Regions from separate parts of the Homo sapiens genome. Here region 1 is linked to region 2. Evidence: promoter capture Hi-C in 16 types of primary human blood cells and fetal thymus (Javierre and others, 2016). All regions are on one chromosome and are shown on one strand. The core of a region is centred on a gene start or on the middle of the fragment in contact, and the rest is flanking DNA. Distances in the headings are between cores, read along the strand shown. Region 1 overlaps LOC105375566 (a long non-coding RNA gene). Region 2 holds the start of GIMAP7 (GTPase, IMAP family member 7).

The links. Contacts are between HindIII fragments. The CHiCAGO score rates a contact against its expected background, and 5 or more counts as called.
Region 1: a fragment that was not itself captured here is called in contact with the fragment with the promoter of GIMAP7 in region 2 in 5 of 17 cell types (total CD4 T cells, naive CD4 T cells, naive CD8 T cells and 2 more); the score reaches 10.4 in total CD4 T cells.

Annotation. Positions count from the first base shown.
Region 1 is chr7:150,769,385-150,775,091 of GRCh38, forward strand. The region is part of intron 2 of LOC105375566 (a long non-coding RNA gene); the gene reads right to left. Among named protein-coding and RNA genes, the nearest start is that of TMEM176B, 28 kb to the right of the region's middle. The HindIII fragment of the contact is 2,439 bases long and covers 732-3,170 here.
Region 2 is chr7:150,511,541-150,517,402 of GRCh38, forward strand. It overlaps GIMAP7 (GTPase, IMAP family member 7), which reads left to right and starts at 3,332. Exons shown (of 2, transcript NM_153236.4): 1 at 3,332-3,405. It also overlaps the pseudogene STRADBP1. RefSeq lists enhancers at 3,054-3,213, 3,224-3,483. The HindIII fragment of the contact is 12,674 bases long and covers 320-5,862 here.

The sequences.
Region 1 (5,707 bases), core at 701-3,200, 260 kb after region 2:
AGAAAAACTTACATGAATGCATAAGGATATTTTGTAAGAAGACTCATGATAGTAAAAAGCTACAAACAACCCAAATATTCATCAATACTGCATTGGATAAGCAAATTATAGAATATCCACACAGTGGAATGATATTCAGCAGGAAAAATGAACAAAACACAATTACCTACATCAACATGAATAAATATCATATACATAATGTTTAATCAAAGAAGAACCGTTCTTTTCCCAGAAGAATACAGAATCTGATTCCATTTTTGACAAGGTTAGTCGTGGAAAAAAACTAAAAATATATATTGTTTAGAGCAACAGACATAGGTGATACAAAACTATAAAGAAAAGCAAGGAAAGGCTGGGCGCGGTGACTCACGCCTGTAATCCAAACTCTTTGGGAGGCCAGAGCAGAAGGATTCCTGAGGACAGGAGTTCGAGACCAGCCTGGGCAAAACAGTGAGGCCCTATCTCTACAAAAAAAAAAAAAAAATTGGCCAGGTGAGGTGGTGCACAAGGTGATCTTGCTACACAAAAGTCCAAAGTGGGAGGATCGTTTGAGCCCAGGAGGTCAAGGCTGCAGTGAGCTATGATTGCACCACTGCACTCCAGCCTAGGCAATGGAGCAACACCCTATCTCAAAAAAAAGAAAAAGAAAGAAAGTGAATGATTAACACAAAAGAGAGGATAGTAATAATACCCTAGCGACAGGGAGAGGAACTCATGGAGGTGGGATGGGAAGCTTCGAAGGGCAATGCTCTACTCCTTAAACTGGGTATGGCTTTATTGAGCTTTATGCTGTACATATACTCTTATATATATATATTCATGATATACTTAACTATAAATATAGCTCAACCATATTGAAAAACATGAAACAAGACCTGAACAAACAGAAAAACAGACCATGTTCTGGTATGAAAATACTTACCACTATGAAGATATACATTCTTCCAAAATGGATATATACATAATTAAATTCCAATTGAAATCTGTTGTTTTTGTGTGTGGAATTAGATATGCTTTCTTCAGGCTCCCTTGTGCGGAAAAAAAATGCCTGAACATAAGTTAGTCTGGCATCGGCATAAAACACACAAATAAATCAGTAGGACAATATACATAGTACATAATGAATCCTAGTTAATAATGGGAATAAATGTATGAAAAAGCAGAGGAAAATTGGTTATTTAGTTAAGTGGTGAGGAAAAAACAGCTTTCCAATTAGAAGAAAGTAAAGCTGGGCTGCTACCTCACACTACATAAAAATCCAAGAGGCCGGGCACAGTGACTCACACTGTAATCCCAACACTTTGGGAGGCTGAGACAGGTGGATCACGAAGTCAAGAGATCGAGACCATCCTGACCAACATGGTGAAACCCCATCTATACTAAAAACACAAAAATTAGCTGACCGTGGTGGTGCCCGCCTGTAGTCCCAGCTACTTGGGAGGCTGAGACAGGAGAATCGCTTTATCCCGGGAGACGGAGGTTGTAGTGAGCCGAGATCGCACCACTGCACTCCAGCCTGGCAACAGAGCAAGACTCCATCTAAAAAAATAAAAAATAAAATAAAATCCAAGAAGGATTGAATTTGTGTCTGTAAAAAAATAACATGAAAATCTTAAGACAAAATACAGGAGATTATATGTACAAGCCAAGAGTTGAATGTACTTTCTTAACCAAGACATGAAGCCAGAAGTTATAAAAGAAAAGATGGCTTTAAAGTGTTTAATATGGCAAAGATGCCATAAACAAATTTAAAGATAAAAAAATAAATTTTTCTCTTGAGCCCAGGAGTTGTAGGCTGCAGTGAGATCTGATTGCACCACTGAAATCCAGCTTGGGTAACAGAGTGAGACCTCATCTCTAATGAAAAAAAAAAAAATTAAGATGAAATTTTAAAATCTATGTTACCAAAAAAACTCACAAAAATAAAAATGTGCAACATCCTTAGACTGTTCACAGATGAACAATCAATGGCCAATACACATGTGAAAAAAATTCACTTCATAATGAAGGAAATGAAAATCAAAACAACTTGAAAGCATTGTAAAAAGTTATATACTATTGACAAAAATTAGGGGTGAGCTGAGGTCTGGAGGTCGAGATCAGCCTGACCAACATGGAGAAACCCCATCTCGACTAAAAATACAAAAGGCCGGGTGTGGTGGCACATGCCTGTAATCCCAGCTACTCCGGAGGCTGAGGCAGGAGAATCGCTTGAATCCGGGAGGCGGAGGTTGCAGTGAGCCAAGATCGCGCCATTGCACTCCAGCCTGGGCAACAAGAGCAAAACTCCATCTCAAAAAAAAAAAAAAAAAAAAAAATAGTGGTGAGGTTGGGAAGAAACGCAAAAGATGCTTTAATGCATTGCTGGTAAATGTAAATTATTACAGCCTTTTAAGAAAGCTCTCAATAGGATTTATTTTATTTTAAAATATTTATACACTTTAATGCATCAACCCTATTCCAAAGACTCCGTCTCATGGCAATAAAAGCTCCAGTTAGTATAGTCTGGTTTTGCAGAATTGTTTCTAGAGGCAAAAACATAGGAAGAGAGGTAAAAGTGCATCAGTAGGGATACTCATATTGGTATACTCATATCATGGAAATATTATGCAGCACTAAAAAGGATTATTAGAATGGCTAAAATTAAATACACTGAACACACTGAGTGTTGGTGAAGATGTGGAGGGACTGGTGGTATATAAAATGGTGCAATTGGCCGGGCTCAGTGGCTCACGCCTGTAATCCCAGCACTTTGGGAGGCCAAGACAGGCAGATCACCTGAGGCCAGGAGTTCAAGACCAGCCTGGCCAACATGGCGAAATGCTGTCTCCACTAAAAATACAAAAAAAAAAAATTAGCCAGGTGTGGTGGCAGGCGCCTATAATCCCAGTTTCTCAGGAGACTGAGGCAGGAGAATTGCTTGAACCCAGGAGGCGGAGGTTGCAGTGAGCTGAGATCACACCAGTACACTCCAGCCTGGGCAACAAGAGCAAAACTGCATCTCAAAAAAAAAAAAAAAGTGGTGCAATGACTTTAGAAAACAATTGGCCAGTTTCTTAAAAAGTAATCTTACACACCCATAATATGACTCAGGCATTCCACTCCTAGGTATATTCCTAAGAGAAAAGAAATCATGTGTTCATAAATGTCTTATACCTGATCATTCATAAAGCTTTATCTGCAATAGGCAAAAGTTGGGAATAAACAAAATATCTATCAACAGGTGAATGGATAAACTAACTGTAGCATATCTATACAATGGAATATGACTTCTCAATAAAAAGATATGAGCTACTGATTCACACAACATGGGTGAACCTCAAAATTATTATGCTCAGTGGAAAAAGTCAAACAAAAGGAGTACATATAGTATATATGGTGTGATTCCACTTACTCTAGAAAATGCTCACTATTCTATAGTGACAAAAAGCAAGTCAGTGGCTGCCCGGGGATGGGGGTGAGAAGTGTCAGGAGGAAGGACTGACAAGGGTCATGAGGATATTTTGGGGGGGGCCAATGGATATGTGTCAAAACTTATTAAATCGTACACTTTAAATATGATTCTCTCTCTCCCACTCTGTCTCTCTCTCCCTCTGAATTCTCCCTCTCTCTCCCACTGAAAACTGGAATAAGACAAGGATGACCACTCTCACCACTCCTATTCAATATGGTACTGGAAGTACTAGCCAGAGCAATCAGGCAAGAGAAAGAAATAAAAAGCATTCAAATAGGAAGAGAGGAAGTCAAACTATCTCTGTTTTCAGACAATATGATTTTATATGTAGAAAACCTCATAGTCTCTGCCCAAAAGCTCTTACAGATTCAAGACAAACAACTTTAAGAAAGTTTCAGGATAAAAACTCAATGTACAAAAATTAGTAGCATTTCTATACACAAACAACGTCCAAGCTGAGAGTCAAATCAAGAATGCAAGCCCATTCGTAATAGCCACGCACACAGAAAAAAATAAAATACCTAGGCATTTTCAAATCTCTTTCAGTAAAATATCTTTCACCTCCCTAACCAAGGAGAGTTTTGTAATTCTCAACCCCAGTGAGGCGAAAGATCTCTACAATGAGAATTACAAAACAATGCTCAAAGAATTTAGAGATGACACAAACAGATGAAAAAACATTTCATGCTCATAGATAGGAAGAATCAATATTGTTAAAATGGCCATACTGCCCAAATCAATTTACAGATTCAATGCTATTCCTATCACACTACAAATTACCTTTTTAAAGAATTAGAAGAAACAATTCTAAAATTCATATGGATCCAAGAAAGAGCCCAAATAGTCAAAGCAATCCTAAGCAAAAAGAACAAAGCTGGAGGCATTACATTACCTGACTTCAAACTTTCCTAGAGAGCTACAGTAACAAAAAACAGCACGGTGTGGTACAGAAACAGACATATAGACCAATGGAACAGAATAGAGAGCCCAGAAATAAAGCCACACACCTACAACCATCTGATCTTCAACAAAGTCAACAGAAACAAGTAATGGGGAAAAGACATCCTAGTCAATAAATGGTGCTGGGATAACTGGCTACCCATATGCAGAAGATTGAAACCGGACCTCTTCATTTCACCATATACAAAAATCAACTCAAGGTGGATTGAAGACTTAAATGTAAAACCAAAACTACAAAATCCTAAAAGAAAACCTAGGGAATACCATTCTAGACATAGGCCCTGCCAAAGATTTCATGACAAAGATAACAAAAGCAATTGCAACAAAAACAAAAATTGACAAATGGGACCTAATTAAACTAAAGAGCCTCTGCACAGCAAAAGAAACTACCAACACAGTAAACAAACAACCTACAGAATGAGAGAAAATATTTGCAAACTATGTGTCCAACAAAGGTCTAATAACCAGAACCTATAAGGAACTTAAACAAATTAACAAGCAAAAACCCTTTTAAAAATGGGCAAAGGACATGAACAGACACTTCTCAAAAGAAGTCATATACATGGCCAACAAGCTTATGAAAAAATGAACATTACTAATCATTAGAGAAATGCAAATCAAACCCACAATGAGATACCATCTCACACCAGTCAGAATGGCTATCATTAAAAGTCAAAAAGTTTGGGAGGCCGAGGGGGGTAGATCATGAGGTCAGGAGTTTGAGACCAGCCTGGCCAACATAGTGAAACCCCATCTCTACTAAAAATACAAAAAATCAGCTGGGCATGGTGGCAGATGCCTATAATCCCAGCTACTTGGGAGGCTGAGGCAGGAGAATCGTTTGAACCTGGGAGGCGAAGGTTGCAGTGAGCCAAGATCGCGCCACTGCACTCCACTCCGGGTGACAGTGGGAGACTCCATCTCACCAAAAAAAAAAAAAAAAAAAAAAAATCAAAAAGTAACAGATGCTTGAGGTTGTTAAGAAAAGGGAATGCTTATACACTGCTGATGGAAATGTAAATTAGCTCAGCCACTGTGGAAAGCAGTTTGGTGATTTCTCAAAGAACTTAGAACTACAATTTGAACCAGCAATCCCATTACTGAGTATATACCCAAAGGAATATAAATCATCCTACCATAAAGACGCACACATGCATACGTTCATCGCAGCAATATCTGTGATAGCAAAGACCTGGGATCTACCTAGATGGCCATCAATGGTAGACTGAATAAAGAAAATTGCTACATATATACCTGTATATGGAATACTATGCAGTCATAAAAATGAGATCA
Region 2 (5,862 bases), core at 2,082-4,581:
GTGCGACGTGGCCACAAGCCAAAGAACACTAGTAGCATAGAGATGCTGGAAGAGGCCAGGAACAGATTCTCTCGTGGAGCCTCTAGAAGGTACCCTGCTAATTAGCCTGATTTTATCCCCATAACACTCATTTTGGACTTCTGACTTCCAGAACTGTAAGAGGAAAATTTTATGTTGTTTTAGGCCACTACATTTTTGGTAATTTGTCATGATAGCAATAGGAAGCTGATACTCCAAGGTTACATAATCTGTGTAAGAGCTAGGACAGTACTATACCTTTCATCTCCTGTTATTATTTGTGCACTATCTTAATAAGTTAAGCTTTGCATTGATTTAGCATCATGGCGGCAGAAGAAAAGCCCCGAGTTTTGTGCACACACACACATACACATACACACAAAATCAAAAACATAATGTTCTTTTTTTATTTTTATTTTTAAACACAGTATTCTTTTTTAATACATTTCAAGCGAATCACTTAATGTGAGTGAGGCTGAGTTAGATGTTACCATAAGTATTAACAGAAGAAAAAGGGAAAGTAAAGACATTTTCCCTCTACCATAAAAGGGTCTGATGCAAGATAAACTAGCCTGTTGGTTTAACAATAGCTCATTAAAAAGGCCAGACAATCTGGGAGAAGAAGATGTACTTAGAAGCACTATCCTTTGAAGGACCATTCCCAAGAGGACAGCAAAATATTGAAAAAATTAACTGGCTCAAAAATTATATTGAGAGATCAAGACAGTTAGCCACAGCTTAGAAAAATTTCCTGAATAAATAACACTAACTAGCTAGGTTAGTAGTTCTGATGTTTCCTTGGAGTTGTCATAGCACTCTGTGTGAACCAAAGGGACTACAAACTGATGCCCCTTTGAACAGAGTGATTTGAATAGATTCTCCAGTGCACCAACTGTATTTTCAAGTATAATTCTGGTATTTGTACCTAGCAATACAGAAGAAAAAGCAGCAAGGAGAAAGTGTCAAGTATATAGGACATAAGATGATTTGCCAGCCCTAGCTAGAATTCCCAATATGAATCTTTTTCATCAGGAAAACCACATTCTGGCTCAGTCCAAGGTAACACCGGAGGCAGTGATATTGATGGCTTGTTATAAGCAGGAGGCAACAGTGAAAGTACCGAATCCTGGCTTTCTTCTTTCATCTGTTTGAAGAAAACATGGGACAATAAACTGCTTGCTGATGGCCTTTTCTCCGGATCTTGTTGCAAACACAGCTGTACCCAGCTAAAGAAGGCAGGAGAGAAGGTTTTTGAGGATGGTGTGTGTAATCGGTCACTATTTACTGTGTGAGTTCCACTGGAGACAAGCACACTTGCTCCAATCCCAGAGTCTACACCTGACCGGGAATTTTTCATTTTGGATTCTGATTGAGGGAAAATACTGATATCCAATGGGCTATAAGGGGGACCTTTCAGTTTCTGTTAACAGCATCTGAGTTCTATGCACGTCCTGGAAAGGCACCTGCCCACTGGCTAATTCACATGTTGTAATCCCAACACTGTAAATATCTGACTTCACATTATACCCATGTAAATCCTGTCTCAGTAGTTCTGGACTCAGCCATGGCTGCACTAATGTGCTGAACTGTGGGAAATCATACACAGCCCTATGCCTCTGTCCATGCTTAACCAAACTATGCAGATGGGACAGGCCAGAGAGGGTCACTAGGCCATCACCAGAAATGAGGATATGGCTGGCTTTAATTCTCCTGTGAATACAGCCATATTGGTAGAGATAGTTCAATCCTCTCACTGCTCCAAAGAGAATGTTTCTTATTAAAGTTTTACTCATTCCTTCAGGAAAATAGGTCCTCAAGAGTTGTCTTGCTGAACCATAGGCCATAAATGGAGAAATAACCCAAAGCCAGCTGCCAACAGTGAAAACTGTCCAATAAGTTGTAATATTGGGATGCCGGAAAAAGTGGGATAGAATCATGGCTTTCTGTAAAACTTTCAGGCGTTCTTTATTGCCGTTTTCCAGATTTGTAATTTTTGTAGTTACCAGCGTTCCCGTAGGAGTATGCCGTGCTAGATGGACAGAAGTCAACTTGTCAAATCCTCTTCCTATTTCTACTTGGAGCTCGTAGTGAGAAACGTTGGCGGAACATACTACTTCACTGGCTCTAGTGGATGGAGGCGACCAGGAAAGGGTTGGCTCTTCGACCAAGTATTGATGGATACTGGTTTCAGACTTGTTTTTCATGTTTGAGTGATTCAACTTGTGTTCTTGAACTAAAGCTCACAGAAAGTGACAAAAATCCAAATATTCCAAAGAAGGCTTTTGTTTTATCTTCCTTTGAAGATGCAGATATATCCTACTTAGCGGCGACGACGGCCAGCGACTCCCTACAGGCTGCCAGTGGTGCGGACCTGGGCGGGTGCCGGAGCCCGGATCACAGAGGGGCAAGGCGAGCGCTCTAGGCCCACTCCTGGCGTGGGGCGCTGGAGGGTGGCAAGGCCGCGACAGGGGCTGTGGGCTTGGAACTCTAAACATAGTATTCTTACGTAGCCAACTGGAATATCTGGTCAACCGTGAGAGCTTTGGGAACCTGCCTCTCACCTCAAGAAACCTCCAGAGCAGATTGGAACCATCCACTGGGTAAATTCTGGAAAATCTGTCTCTGCCTGAGACTGGGGTAGGAAGATGTGGGGTAGAGAGGAAGGTGGGGAAGGGATGTAGGATCTATTCCTTGGGTGCATCTTTACTTGTTAGGTCATGCATATTTTCAAACTTGGAAGAATTATACGAAAAGCAACTAGAGAAACTATGTGTTCATGGGCAGATTATTTTTCCAGGCGTCACCTTCCTTTTTTTCCCTTGGTTCCTAATGATTTAGACTCTGCCTTTGAGCCTCAGTGCTGTTAACTTTTGAATGAGTAACTTGAGGCCTTCCTGAAAGACTATAATAAAAAACCCATATTATACAATCACTAAGAACCCCCAGCTCTACGCTTGGAAATGGCAAGGTATATGCCTGTCTCTCTTCTTCCCCAAATCACCCCTCAGCCTCCCACTCCACCCTGGGAAGACAATCAGGTCCTGTGCCTTGTTTTCTAGGCAATATTTGGGTCATTTAATAAGGCTCTTTTGCATCCATCACTATAACCTGAAGCGAAAAATGTAGCTTTGGAAATGGTGTTTATAGCAGGCCCATGGGCAAAACGTTTCAACCGGGCAAAACTGAAGCAATCACCAGATTATGGAGCCGTATTTCTGTTTCTTTAAAGACAAACATTTTTGTGTGTGTGGCTCCACCCAGCCTGAGCTTCCTGACTGAGAGGTTTTGGTGGCGGTACAGACACTTTTAACTCACAGTAAAAGCAAAAGCAACAGCTCAAGCAGCCTCCTTGGAGAAAACCTGAAAATTCAACTTGTTCAAGAGAAGGTGAGCCTGGCTGAGAAGAGGGTCTGGTGCTATTGGGCTGCGAAGGGCAGTGGGGACAGGGTGTGTGGCTGGAGTGGACTCTGCCCTTAGGAGGGACAAGGCACTGTGCTAAGCAGCACTGCATAGAAGGTGCTGTGGGAGGGGTGAGTAGAAGGGGAGTGAGGAGATTTGTTTGCATGGAGCCCATGCATCTCATATGTAACAGGACACACATGGCTGCATAGTGCACCCTCCACTCACTGGCTGTTGTGATAGACACAGAGTGTTGCCTGATAACCTTCATAAGAAATTAAGGGCTCCTAAGACAGATTTGTAAAGGTGACAGGCAATTTAGAGTCCACCTGTCTAAGTCCCTCTTCTTACAGAAAAAGAATCAGAATCCCAATCCCAGAGATTTTGATGATTCTCCAAGGGGTACCCAGATCACTCATGGCGGAGGAACACTAGAATTCAGTCTGCTGACTTTTTCCAGCATTAAGCAGAGACAAGCTGTGTCCCTAACAGTGTAACATGTGGGGCTGCTGCGCCATTCAGTACAAAAAGAGTTGCCATAAAAGACCTTTATAGAAATCACTCTATGAAAGCCTAAGGACAACCCTGCAAGATTGGTTTTATTTTCCTTTTTTATAGCAGAGGGAACTGGATCTCAAGGAGCTACGAAATTTTCTAGAACCGGTGGGTCTGGCCACAGTTTAGAACTGTTCACCTCTGTTGTAAATGCTTTTGTCATTTCTCAGCCTTTCTCTTAGCTGGAGGTCCTCTGGATCTTCCAGGAACCACTTGAGAAAGTTTTAAAACTTGAGAAAGTTTTAAAGTGATATTTCTGACCATCTCTCTCACGTTTGGCTTCTCAATATGAGAGAGATGGAAAAGTCCACGAGAAATGCGGAGCCCTCCTCACGGTTCCCTTATAACAGGCTGGCTCCCAGCTCACCTTTTTGCAGAAAGCGTGGATCATCTCCTTTGCCCTCCACTGGTCTATCTCTGTGCCATGTCAATGAAAATTTAGAATCATGGCCTGAGAGTAGCCAAGAACAGGCAGTAGAGTGCACGGTTAAGAGTGAGCATGGTAGATTCAGACAGACTTTGAATCGAATGTCTTCTCTGCCCAATACCTCTTAGCACAGTGACCAGGGGCATGTTTCCCAGAATTTTTGAGCCACACCAGCTTCCTCATTTAAAAAATTAGAATAATAAAATTAGTTTCACTGTAGAGTATTTTTGAAGAATAAACGAGATATACAAAACATGTTTTATCAGGGTGTTCTGATATGCAGTCTCTGCTCGATAGTGGTTACACTATACATGGGTTAATTTTTTTATTTGTGAAAAATTTATACTTATTCAAAGGTAAAAACAATATAAGGAACTTCCATGTACCTATATTAAAATCTCACAGTTATCAATTTATGCCAGTCTTGTTCAAATATCTGCTCCTATTCTCAACTCTATCACAGATTATTTTGAAGCAAATGTCAGACATTACATCATTTTATCAGTAAATATTTGAGTATGTGTCTCTGAAAGATAAAGACCATTTAAAAACATTTCCACAATTTCATAAACAGCCTTCAAAAGGCAACTATAAATTTTAATACTACCAGTTGTATTCAGATTTCCCTGAAGATCTCATAATTTTTAAAATTGTTTGAGGTAGGATCTAAGTAAAATTCATACATTACAATTGTTTGACATCTCTTATGTTTCACTTAATGTGTAGGTTTTCACCTTCCTTGTTTCTTTGTGTTAAATTTCTTTGTTTAAGGAAGGGAAGGTCTTTTGTCCAACAGAACTGGGCAGTATTCATACTGCTGATTGCATCCTAACAATGTCATTTAACATTCGCTTCTAGCTCCAGTGTTTTGTGTGAATTTATATGAATGGGGAGGTTGGATCAGATTAAAGTTTGACTTTGTTTTTTTAGTGGGAATACTTCATAGATGCTATCCTAAACTTCTATTAGAAGGCACATATGTTTGAATGCCTCTCTTTTTGTGATGTTAGCAGATGTTAATGATTGTCTAGAATGAATTTGTTTCATTAAAAGTTACCAAAAGATGATATTCTATCATTCTTTATTTATTTATTAGATGGAATAGTCATACACAAAGGAACTTTCATTCAGTGATTCTTTCATTTTTGTGAGATATAGTTAAAAGATGAGATGTATGAAAGACAAAATAAATGCTTCTTTCCCTTTAGTTGTCAATGTTCAGAATGATGAGTCACTTTCTTAGCATACTCCAAAGGGAGCAATTAACTTCTTTCAGGAAGATGGTGTTGTTATCAACTACTGGATTTCAATATATTTGGTATATTTTAATCCATTGGAATAATCTTTATTAATGATGCTCAAATTATTCCATCTTTGTCCAGTTGGAACCTCTTTAAGGTAGCTTCCAAGCCCTTCTGATAAAACTAAGTAATTTTTTATAGCATCCCTACTTTCTAGTATGA